4 separate regions of the Homo sapiens genome follow, and all the other regions are linked to region 2. The links are contacts of gene promoters, found by promoter capture Hi-C in human tissues and cell types (Jung and others, 2019). All regions are on one chromosome and are shown on one strand. The core of a region is centred on a gene start or on the middle of the fragment in contact, and the rest is flanking DNA. Distances in the headings are between cores, read along the strand shown.

Region 1 (3,046 bases), core at 85-2,584, 1.0 Mb before region 2:
TCATACCCTGACATTTGAACTTAGCCTTATAAGACACTACCTGTTTGTAGTGAAGTTCTCTTGTTTAAACCTACTTTCTTATAAAATGATATACTTAAGGGCTTCCTCTGGCTAAATTTACTATTTTTAATTTCTATAACGTAGCACAGAACATTTGCTGACAGTACAGTTTAAGCCAGCACCAAAACCAAAATCGCGTGGAGATGCAATTTTCTTATGACCGAACAGTCTTCTAAGGGAATGACCCAAGTAATTAACATATTAACTATTTTCTTAATGCTAAGTGCAGTGGTATTAAATATTGATTTAAGTTCTCAGAAATCTTAATGACTTTGGCCAATAACAACATTATTTAATAAAACAGTTTTAGGCCATAGTTATTCAACTCATGAAAATAATTTAACAGTTCCTTTAATTTAAACAACATTTCCCCCCATGCTATTGACTCTTCCATTAACCGTAGCACACGCAAAATTCAAGCTAAAAGCAAGTGGCTTGGTGAGCGTTCAGACCTCACAAGACGCACCACAGGGTTCATACCATTCTGCTGGGGCCCCTGGAATACCACTGCCAGCAGAGGGGACCATCACCGCGTTCCTCTCCTCAGTTAGGGTCAACCGCATCTCCAGAAGCTGCGCTTCACGGTCAGCATCATCCTCTGTTTTATCTAGAACATCGAGAATGAGGATTCAATGACAAAACTTCACTTGCCATTTATCTTTTTGTCCTGAGTAAAGACTGGATTTGCCTATATTTCAATTATTAGCTCACAAGTGCTCCCCAGTGATAAAAACTAACCCACAGCTAGAGAGGTCAGATGGGCTCCTGCAGAGAGGCCATCTTCAGTTCCTGGGAGGCCTACAGAGGGACCGCACAGGAGTGACTGGTCCAGAGTCAGAGGACTCGAGCCCTTTGGATAAGAAAAGTTACCACCTTCCTTTATGTTATCTTTGACAAACCATGTATGCTTTGTGCACTGTATTTGCTCTTTCTTTGTAGGGGGTGGGAGGAAGACCTCCACCAAGATACGACAGCTGGATAAAGGATATGACATAAACAAAGAGTAACACTCATCTGCTCCTGCCATCCCCATTACTGATGTGTTCATCTGGTTCTTAACTGATGTGGCTACAAAGGGAGAATAATTAATTATGCATTGATTTGCAGGGGAGAAAAATATTCTATTTGTTTTTCCTACCACGTTTACTGACAAGCTTTTGCAATTGTTGATCCAAGTACTCCTGACGTTTTGTTAATGCATTTAGCCATTTTCTACGAAGTCTCTCTAAATCTCGATCCTGGAAGCAAGCAAGGAAAATCATATTCAATGTAATGTCAAGATAATCTATCTGAAACTGATGCTCTATCTTACCTTGCTCTACTATGCCTTGGAAAGGTAAGGTAGTATACAATAATTTCTTTATTGCTACCACCAGTTGACTGCGCCCATCTTTCAAAACAGCTATTTTCAGAATTTAAAGCATTATTTTCTAGAACAGAAAGGGCATTCTCAGGTATCCAGAACCAGTTTTATTTCTAATGGCTTGGGGGTAGAGCTTTAAGCACCTGCAACAAAAATCTTCTAAAAGGTCTCTTTGCTGGATAAAACCGATAAACAGGACTCAATAATCTTCCAATATGGCTGGGCGTGGTGGCTCACACTTGTAATCCCAGCACTTTGGGAGGCTGAGGCAGGTGAATCACTTGAGGACGGGAGTTTGAGGCCAGCCTGGCTAACACAGCGAAACCCTGTCTCTACTCAAAATATAAAAAATTGGCCAGGCGCAGTGGCTCACATCTGTAATGCCAGCACTTTGGGAGGTCAAGGCAGGCAGATAACCTGAGGTCAGGAGTTTGAGACCAGCCTCCCCAACATGGTGAAACCCCATCCCTACTAAAAATACAAAAATTAGCCAGGCGTGGTGGCGGGTACCTGTAATCCCAGCTACTTGGGAGCTGAGGCAGGAGAATCGCTTGAACCCGGGAGGCAGAGGTTGCAATGAGCCGAGACTGTGCCATGGCACTCCAGCCTGGGCAACAAGAACAAAACTCCATCCCAAAAAAAAAAAAAAAAATTAGCTGGGCATGGTGGTGTTCACCTTTCATGCCAACTACTTGGGAGGCTGAGGCAAGAGAATTACTTAAACCTGAGAGGCAGAGGTTGCAATGAGCCAAGATCACTCCACTGCACTATGGTCTGGGTGGTAGAGCAAGACTCTGTCTCCAAAAAACAAAACAAACAAAAAACCACTTTCAATTTATGTACCTTAGAATAATCAGAAGAATCAACTTTTGTAACTTCTGCTTTCTATATGTCAAAACAGGCTCTTGAAGACAACATGTAAATGCTTCTCTCACTTGTTTTTATGCATTTTGTGGGGCAACAGGTAGGGGAAAGAGGGGATAGGGGTTGTCATCAACAGAATAACAACCTACCAGTCAACACCTACATGAATATCAATCTTACCTCATTTCCTTTTCTAATAAGGTTACAAGACTGGGTAGGTCAGTGGAATGCTGCAGATATAGTGTGTCTGGGCTTTACTAGGGCACTTAACCAAATAGCCTATGACATTGTTGTGGACAAGATGGAGAAACGTGCGATGCATCTACTTAAGTGAAATCACAGAGGACTCAAATATCACATCCGAAGAATAGTGATTAATGTCAGCTTGAAAAAAGTCTCTATTGTTGTGCCATAGGACTCTGTATTTAATCCTATCTGATACAGTGTTTTTATCAGTGACTTATAGGAAAGCAGACATTTCTATCAAATTAGAATGATGCAAAACCAGGAAAGTGACTACACGGATGACATAATCAGGCTCCAAAGAGCCCTGACAGTCCTGAACGATGACTAACAGATGAAACTGCACAGAAAGAAACAAAGTCTTGCAGGAGGTTAGGAAAAGAAAACAAAGGAAAAAAAAAAAAAGATTCCAAATGCTGTATGATTCCAGGAAGTAGGGAAGAAAGATCTAGCTTAAAAAATGCAAAATTCAGTCGGGCGCGGTGGCTCATGCCTGTAATCCCAACACTTTGGGAA
Region 2 (3,101 bases), core at 552-3,051:
TCTGGGTGGGCCTGATTCAATCAGTTGAAGGCCATAAGAGCTGAGATGGGCTTCCCTGAAGAAATTCCTCCTGTGAACAACAGCCTCACCCCTTGCATGAGAGTTCCAGCTTAGTGTACAGATTTTGGACTTGCTTAGCTGGGGCTCCACAATCATGTAAGCCAATTCCTTACAATAAGCCTTTTGATATCCATCTACTACTAGTTCTGTTTCTCTGGTTGGAAACTGAGTATGTGACATCCGAGACATAAAGGGTCAGAAGGTGTTAGGGTGGGGGCAAGTGGAAGCGGTTGGGGGTGGAGAGTCAGCTTTGCTTTTTTGGAGAATGAGGGTGTGATCGAACACATAGAAAGAGAAAGAGAGAAGTAGGCAGGGGCTGGATGTAGCTCAGAGATAGGTTATGGAAAGCAGTTTGGATTTTAGATTTTAAGAGGAAGGGGAAATAACTGAATTTGGCTCTTATTTTTAATTTTTTTCCATTAAAAAAATACATTATAGAAAAAATATATAGAGACGGGATCATGCTGTGTTGACCAGGCTGGTCTCCAACTCCTGGCCTCAAGCGATCCTCCCATCTCGGCCCCCCAAAGTGCTGGGATTACCGGTTTGAGCCACGCGCCTGGCCTCAATTTGTCTTTTAAAGGATGATTTTGACTACAAGAGAACTACTTGGATCAGGGTTGGGGGTGGGAGATGAGGAGGTGTGATTTCAGAGGCCAAGTACAGAATGAGTGAACAACTGGGAGAGACACATCGGCTGAGATTAGAGAGATGGTCCGGTAGACAAAAGTGTAAGCATGAGACCCGAGGTAGGACAAGCAGAACTTGCAGATCTATTACAGATGTAGGGGTGAGGAGTGCCAGGGTGACTCTTGAGTGTCTGGCTTGAGCAGCTAGGCAAATGGTGTGGATCAAAAAAGCAGCAGGTTGCAGGGAGGACGGCAGTGTTAATCGAAAGTCATGTTCTGTAAGTTTTAGGTTCGATACGACTCTGAGCGGAGATGTCAATTAGTCAACCGAATGTCAGGTGTGAAGATCGGCACAGAGGGCAGAACCAGAGACATTCATTAGAGAGCAAACAGGTAGAGGGCACTTAACCTATAGGAAGGATGCACTCATATAGAGCGAGAAAAGGGCCAGAAGGAGCCCTAATGAGTAGAGAAAGACAGGCTGAAAAGGACATCGGCGAGGTCAGAGAAATACCTTTAGGGTGTAATTACGCCTACGCGAGTGGGTAAAATGAGGGCATAATGACGCGGACTGGATTGCAATAAACAGCTTTTATTCTTTTATCAGAGACACGATCTAGCTTTTTAGCCCAGGCCGGAGTGCGGTGGCATCCTCACAGCTCGCTGCAGCTTCACTGGGCTCAGGCGATCCTCTCGAGTAGCTGGGGTACAGGCGCAGGCCACCGTGACAGGCTTTTTTTTTTTTTTTTTTTTTTTTTTTTTGAAGAGAGGGTCTCACTATGTTACCCAGGCTAGTCTCGCAGTCTGGCACTCCTGGCCTCAAGCGATCCTCCTGCCTCGGCCTCTCGGCCTCCCAAAGTGCTGGCCTGTGCCCAGTCAATGGCTGTTCCAAATTAGGGTCTACCCATCTCTATGCAGGGCTAAAGTCCGCGGGCGGCCCCGCACCGCTACCAAAAGTACAGTCCTGTGCGCCCAGACGCGACGCAAACAAGAGTCGCAAGCTTCCGGGTCCCCGCCCCACCCCGGCTCCGCCCCTCCCCCAACCCTGCCAGGCTCTCCAATCGCATGTGGAATTATCGCTCTACCCAGGCGGTGGTGTCGATCTACGTTCCAATTGGGGCCGTACCATGGCGGAGAAGACTCAAAAGAGGTGGGTTTGCTGCTTGAGAAAAGCCTTTTCTCAGCTTTCCGTAGGGGTGGAACCTGTTCCTGGTCGCCAATGGTGGCGACTCAGAAGGTGTCTCATCCTGGGCATTCGGGCCGAAGGTACCTGAAGCCCAGACCTGGCGTCCACTGAGGGAGGGGGCGACGGAGTGGGGGCGGGGAGGGTTGAGAAGGGACGCGGAGTCGCTGCCTGGAAGGTTTTTGTTCCTGTCTGGCCGTCCCTCCCCACATGCGCCTGCGCAGAGGGGGTCTCCCGGCCGGGAGGGCGGGGGGGGCTGTGAGGGGAGGGTGACGTCAGCTTTTTCCTGGGGAAGGCCGGCTCCCTTCTCCCGCATAATCGGCGGTGCTTGGCGCCGCTGTACCCCACGGCTTGGCGCTGGATTCTCTGCTGCATGTTGCGAGACCCCCACGCCAGTGCTGGCCGCACCCCAGGCCCTTCCTGTCTCTGGAGGGTGGGGTGTGTAAAGGGATTTACGGTCGCTGTCAAAAGGGGGGCCGCGCCTGGACTTGAACTGTGACACACACACACACACATTATATAGATGCAAGGAGTACTTGCGCAGATTTGTTGCATAGATAAATTGCGTAATGGTGAAGTTGGCTTCTAGTGTACTTACCACCCAAATAGTGAACATTGTATCAGATGGGTAATTTTTCAGCCCTCAAACCCCTCCTACCCTCGCTGCTTTTAGAGTCCCCAGTGTCTGTTATTTCCCTCTTTATGTTTATGTGTACTCATTTTAGCTCCCACTTAAAAGTGAGAACATGTGCATTTGATTTTATTTCTGAGTTATCGCGTAAGGTAATGGCCTCCAGTTCCATCCATGTTGTTGCAAAAGACATGTTTCCTTTCTTTTTGATGGCTCTGTAGTATTCCATCGTATAGATACACCACATTTCCTTTATCCAGTCATCCGTTGATGAACACTTAGGTTGATTCCATACTTTGCTATTGTGAATAGTACAGTGATAGTCATAGGAGTGCAGTTGTCTTTTTAATACAATGGTTTCCTTTGAGTAGATCCTGGGTCGAATGGTAGTTCCGTTTGGATTGGTAGCTCTATATGGATTGCTGGGTCCAATGGTACTTGTGTTTAGTCCTTTGAGAAATCACCATACTATTTTCAATAGATGAACTAATTTATATTCCCACCAATAGTGTATAAGCTTAGAACTGTGACATTTTTTGCCAGGCGTGGAGTGGACAAGCTCCTTTGTAAACATGTGGGGACAGGAAGTTTGGCTTCT
Region 3 (2,998 bases), core at 318-2,817, 1.4 Mb before region 2:
GGATGCAGTGGCATGTGCCTGTGATCCCAGCTACTCAGGAAACTGAGGTGGGAGTATCACTTGACCCTGAGAGTTTAAGGCTGCAGTGAGCCATGACTGTGCCACTGCACTTCAGCCTGGGTGACAAAGTAAGACTCTCTCTCAAAAACTTGTTAATATATAAAATACAGTTGACTTTTGGATACTAACCTTGTATTTTGCAGTCTTGTGAGCTTATTCCAGTAGTTTTCTAGATTTCTTAGAACTTTCTATGTAAAAAGTCTCATCTGAAAACAGTTTTACTTCTTTCCTACCTTTATGCTTTATCTGTTTGTATGCCTGCCTGCCTTTTCCTCTTCAATTTTGCCTTATTGCAATGACTGGGACTCCGAGAACACTATAGAACAGTAGTATGGATCGGCACCTTGCTTTGCTCTCAATATTTGGGGAAAAGCTCTAGTATTTCACTGAGCTGTTAAGTTTTTCATACATAACCTTTATCAGGTTGAGTATGTTCCCTTTTATTCCTGTCTGCTGAGTGCTGTTAGAGAATTTCATCAAATGCTTTTTTCCTGTATCTATCGAAATGATCCTCTATTCTATTATAAATTAGATTGGCTTTCAAATATTTAATTATCCTTGCATTCCAGGGATAAACCCTACTTGGTCATGTCATATTATCCTATTTGTGTATTGCTGGATTCAGGTTGCTGGTAAGTTTTTTTTTTTTTTTTTTTTGCATTGATGTTCATGAGAGATATTTACCTCTCATTTTCTTTTTTGGTAATGACTTTATAAGGTTTTGGTATTAGAGTTATGCTGGCCCCTTAAAAGGGACTGGAATATTCCCCCTTCCTCTTTTTGATAGAGGTTATACAAGATTGGTGTTATTTCTTCCTTAAATGTTTGATAGTTTCCCAGGGAAACCATCTAGGCCTGGAGTTTTCCTTGTGAGAAGATAATAAATTTAATTTCTTAAGTGAATATCAAGTTCTTTTTCTTATTGAATGAGCTTTGTCTATTTGTGTCTTCAAAGGAAATTTTCCATTTTATCTGTGGTGGTAAATCTGTTGGCATAAGTTGGTGTTCTTTTTATCCCTTTAATATTTGTAGGCTCTTTAGTAATACCCCCCTTTCCTTTCTGATTGGCTGTCTTCTTCATATCCGTAGGATCTGTAGTGATAACCAAAGTTTTTTCACTGCCCATATGGGCAGTCGGTCCTGTCTTTCCTTGATCAGTCTAATGAGGTGTGTATCAGTTCTGCTGATGTTTTAAAAAATCAGCTTTTGGCTTTGTTAGTTTTCTCTGTTCTGTTTTGCTCATGTTTTGCTTATTTTTATGATTTCTTTCCTCTACTTTCTTTGGGTTTATTTGGCTCTTTTTATAGTCTTCTAAGGTAAAAATTTAGATCAAGTTTAGGTCTTTCATTTTTTCTGTAAGCATTTAAAGGTATAAGATGACTTTTAAGCACTACTTTAGCAGTATCCTGTACATGTTGAGCTTTAATTTTCTGTTCAAAATACTTTCCAATTCATTTTGGGATGTCTTCTTTGATCCATGAGCTATTTTAGAAGTGTTTAATTTCTAAATATTTGTGGTTTTCCAAAATACTTCGTTGAGTTTGAATTTAATTCCATTGTGGTGGGAGAAGGTTTTGTGTATGCGTTCGGTCCTTTCAGATGTAATGAGATTTATCACCTAGCATATGGTTTTCATAGTAAACATTCTGCTGCTGCAGAGCAAGTATTCTAAAAAGTATCAATTAAGTCAAAGTTTTTGACAGTTTTGTTCAGGTCATCTATGACTTTTTTTTTGTCTAGTTGTTTTAATAATTATTACAAGGGTGATAAAATCTCTAATGGAATTGTTTTTTTGTGGTAGGTTGTTCTATCTACCTACTTACGTAACTACATACGTCTGGAGTTTATAGTTTTACCTCTAGGAGGGTCAGGTCTGATGGGAGCTGTTACATTGCCATTCCATTATTTGACCTTTACTTGAATAAACTACAGAAATGTTCCCACACACAGCACTTGAGCAGGGATTGGCATACTTTTTCTGTAAAGGGTCAGCCAGTGTTTTAGGCTTTGTGGGCCACATGTGATTTCTGTTGCATCTTTTTTCTAACAACTCTGCTTGTGGGCCAGATTTGGCTTTTCGGCCACAGTTACCAACCTCTGATTCATCTCATCAGGAAGCTGCCCACTGAATCGAGTAGCTATTTTAAAGCATGGGCTAAATGATAGGGATTTTTACACTTATGTGCAGGTTCCCATGTTTAGAACATTGCAGTTAAAAAACTGACCCACCAGGAAATGTTGTTTTGGCCTGTAATTCCTAAATATTTCTGAAATTTTCTTTCCTTACCTTCTTCCACAAGCCTCATGCTGGGACAAGGTGGAAAAAACAGACCCTGCCCCCAGGGTGCTCATGGTCCTGGAAATGTGCTCCTCTCTAGCTGTAAGTCTGGGAGAAATGCTTATCTGTGACGGTGAGCTAAAGCCATGAGAGAGGGCACAACACACCGAATATGTGAGCAGCTGCCGACTAATGCCCACTGATGACTGGAAGGTGCTTACTGATGATTGGGAAAGGCTTTGTGAAATGAAAGTCCATTATTTCCAAAGTATGTGAAGCAAATGTAAATAGTTACTAGAGTAAAAACTTATATTGGATAATTTAAGGAAACGTTAGCAAACTTATTTTAATTGATAATGTGTTTGGTAACTCAGAATTTATTGTAGGAGAATTAAGTTACTTTTTACTGGTGATTGATTTGATAACTACATCAGGGAGGCTTACACATGGGTTAGGAATGTTTATTGTAGAAAAAGGTAAAGGGTAAATCCTTCTAACACAAACACCATTACACGGGGGCTTTGCACATTTTTTTCAATGGCCTGCAATGCCAACAGAAGAGAAGCAAGAAATATTCTACATGCCTGAGGAGATGGGCGTTTACACCCCTTTCAAAGATCTGTGGTCCTGTGTCTCAAAAGTTTACATTTAACGTGTGCA
Region 4 (3,099 bases), core at 357-2,856, 1.4 Mb before region 2:
CACTATTTTAATGTTTTAGTATGAGCATTTTGGAAGTTAAATCTTTTTTCTCACTCATGATTCTTTAAGAATAATTTCTCGGATAGAATTACAGGGAAAGAGGATAGACACAGTTTCAGTGTTTTTATTACTGCCAAATTGTGCTCCAGAAAGGTGTGCCAATTTGCAATCCCAGCAGCCAAGTGTGGGAATGTTTACCCTGGATCCTGCTTAGCACCAGATATTATAATTTTACAATACTTTGATGATTTATTAGTGGAAAATATCACAGTATCTTGTTTGAAATGTGTATTTCTTTGATCGCTAGGAAGGTTAAACATATAAACATGTTTATCACTTGAACCCTTTTTTTGTGTAACTTCTTATTTATGTCCGTTGACCACTGTTGATTGCTTTCTTTTAATTCTGTCATATTGAGCAGGCTTCCCCATTTTTAATCAAATTTAAGCTTTTTTTTTTTCCTTCTGAATACATAGAATCATTTGATTCTTATATAGTCAAACCTGTTGAACATTTCTGGATTTTACTTTTGCTTGGATTCCTGGAAAAGTGGCTGTACTTGAGATGAGATTACATGTATATTTTCCTTTTCTTGTTACGGTTCATTTATTATAATTAACTCTTGAATCCACCTGGAACTTATTTTTGGATTTGGTTTGTCATGCAGTAATCTGACTTTATTTTTTTTCCCAAATAGATGTGTCACATTATTTATTGAAAAATGTAATGAGGTGTTCTTTAAAAAGATTGCAACAAGGTAATATTTTTAATTACAAAAGTAATACATAATGATTGTAAAATGAATTAAGACAAAATGAATCCTCTAAGTAAACAAATGGTAGATAAGCAAGAAGCAGTATACAGGGCTGTAGGTCATACGGACCTGGATTTGTAACTTGGTTGCTGTATTGCCTTGAACAAGTTTCCTATCCTTGGTGATACACCACTGCTTCATCGGTGAAGTGGAAATGACAGTACTCCCATGTGGCTGATGAAATGTATGTGTGAAGTGTGTTATCTAGAGTACTGTGCCTAGCACACTGTAAATATAAATCAGTAGCAATTATGAAAAAGCCCTCTCCTCCCCATCTTCCAAGGGTATGTGGTGCATTGAAGTGCGGACTTTCTGCGTTAGCTAAGGGATAGTGCTGTTTGTCTTCCTTAGCTGTCTATGTTGATTGAGCTGCCATCAATCTGAATCTCCATTACTATCAATTCTTCATTAGACCAATAGTTTTGGAGTTAGGGTTGTGTGCTCTGCATTAAAATCACCTGGGAACTTTGTCAAACTGCAGGAGTTTTCCCCCACACCTAGGAATTCTGATTTAGTTAATGTAGCACGGTCCCGGTTTGTTATTTGAAAAAATTCTTAAGTGGTGAATCTGATTTTTACACATAATTAAACTGACTGGTAAAACAATACGATTTGGATTTGTGGGACATTAGCGAACTGGTGGGAAGGGAAGCAGATAAGGCAATGGCATAATTTTCAAATTGAGGACTTATCCTGGGAGTTGAGACTTCTGGGCCCAGGTTTGTTGCCAAGTAAACAGATAACTTGGAGTAATCAATAGCCTCATTTTCCTTGTTAATATCTATATATTCAGCAGCGGAAGGAATGCTCACCACTTATTGATGAGTTCCTTTTGTATTTTGTGATTTGTCTGCTAGTGGCATTTGTGGAACACCTTGGGATTTAGAAACCTACTCTTAAGCCCAAAGAATAAATTGTTTTCCCTTTCAAACAGCCCTGTAATAAGGGCGGCTCAAACTCTGGTTCTCTGGTTGCATCATAATCTTCACTCTTCAGTCAGTAGGTCAAGGCACAACCAGTTTTTCACACTTCGTTTTGCTTTTTAATTGCTGAGGATGTTCTGTTTCCCTTTTTTCATCCAGGCTAGGTTACACAGTAAGAAACCACTGTGGTCGTTGGATTGTGAAAAACATAGGGCCTTGGTCTCCTGTAACTTGGGAAGTGTCTACATGTAGTTCTTAGAGCTTACTCTTTATCTACAATTAGTTTCCCTGGGAAGTGCCTTTTTTTTTTTTTTTTTTTTAAACAGAAGACAAATCAGTGATAGTGTTGGGAAATGTGTTTTAGTGCTTATTAACATACTTCCTGACTTCACGAACTAGGTACTGTCTTGCCTTGACAGGCTGTTTGTCATGCCTGTAGTTAGGAAATCAGGAAATGATGTTTTTTTGGGTTGTTAGTACTTAAAAACAAAACAATCCTCTGAAATACTGCTTTCAGTGACCTCACTGAAATGGTTTCCTGTGGAGAACTCTCTTTACCTAATTGGAAGGGCTCCTGGTGATGGCAGCAATGACAGCAGCATGCAGACAGCTCTGTAGAACCCGCACCTGGGTTGTCATGGAGTTCTGCCACTTGATGGGCCTATTTTGACCTAAATGAAAAAGAGAAAATAGTACTACAAGCACAGATATACAGGTGGGCCATAGGCACAGTGGCAAACATCTTTTGTTCTGAGTCTGCTATTCTCTTTAGCAGGTAAATACTTTGAATATAGTGTTGGTTTTGGGTTTTAGAGGAATATTATGTGTGTCAATTGTAATTATTATTCATGGTTACAGCGGAGTAGCAGTGATATGGAGAATGTAAAAATGATACACATGATAGGCATGTGTGTGTGTGCCTGCTCGCACTCTTACTTGAATTAATATAGACAGTGTAACATAATAAAGGCATTAAAGGTATGAGCTTTACAGCCAGCTTGCTTTGGTTTGAATTCAAGTTTTACCACATAACATGGGTGACCCATGGCTCATTAGCCTCTGTGCTTTGGTTTCCTCGTGTACAGAACAGGAATAACAGTAAACCCACTTCACGGGATTGCTGTGAGGATTAAGTGAGTGTGTTGAGGAATATATGGTAATAGGTTTAACCCGGCATACAGTAAGCATTCAATACCTGTTAGCTATTATCATAATTATTTAAGATATTAGAGGCCGTTGAAGGTTTCATTGGGAACATCTGGAAAGCGTCTAGCCTCTCTCTCTGTTTCTCACTCTGTTCTCCCTTCATACCTTCCACGTGGAAGGCATAACAGCCAGATGGAGCAGTGACTCCCTTCTTCC

The links. The method cuts DNA at HindIII sites, captures the fragments that hold promoters and counts their contacts. A contact is called where the count stands out against the background at its distance.
Region 1: a fragment that was not itself captured here is called in contact with the fragment with the promoter of DCTN6 in region 2 in 1 of the 25 tissues and cell types used here (dorsolateral prefrontal cortex).
Region 3: a fragment that was not itself captured here is called in contact with the fragment with the promoter of DCTN6 in region 2 in 1 of the 25 tissues and cell types used here (dorsolateral prefrontal cortex).
Region 4: a contact is called between a fragment that was not itself captured here and the fragment with the promoter of DCTN6 in region 2, in 1 of the 25 tissues and cell types used here (dorsolateral prefrontal cortex).

What each region holds. Positions count from the first base shown.
Region 1 is chr8:29,122,826-29,125,871 of GRCh38, forward strand. It overlaps KIF13B (kinesin family member 13B), which reads right to left. Exons shown (of 40, transcript NM_015254.4): 27 at 1,199-1,298; 28 at 541-667. Among named protein-coding and RNA genes, the nearest start is that of KIF13B, 140 kb to the right of the region's middle. The HindIII fragment of the contact is 4,670 bases long and covers 1-3,046 here.
Region 2 is chr8:30,154,568-30,157,668 of GRCh38, forward strand. DCTN6 (dynactin subunit 6) reads left to right here and starts at 1,802. Exons shown (of 7, transcript NM_006571.4): 1 at 1,802-1,839. The coding sequence starts at 1,817. It overlaps DCTN6-DT (DCTN6 divergent transcript), which reads right to left and starts at 2,093. Exons shown (of 1, transcript NR_186490.1): 1 at 1,262-2,093. It overlaps LOC124901927 (a long non-coding RNA gene), which reads right to left. Exons shown (of 2, transcript XR_007060880.1): 2 at 2,605-3,101. RefSeq lists enhancers at 893-1,102, 927-1,909, 1,853-2,002 and a silencer at 2,063-2,172. The HindIII fragment of the contact is 3,226 bases long and covers 380-3,101 here.
Region 3 is chr8:28,761,196-28,764,193 of GRCh38, forward strand. No RefSeq gene overlaps it. Among named protein-coding and RNA genes, the nearest start is that of EXTL3, 61 kb to the left of the region's middle. The HindIII fragment of the contact is 6,871 bases long and covers 1-2,998 here.
Region 4 is chr8:28,706,390-28,709,488 of GRCh38, forward strand. All of the region lies in intron 1 of EXTL3 (exostosin like glycosyltransferase 3), which reads left to right. Among named protein-coding and RNA genes, the nearest start is that of EXTL3, 6.4 kb to the left of the region's middle. The HindIII fragment of the contact is 3,077 bases long and covers 69-3,099 here.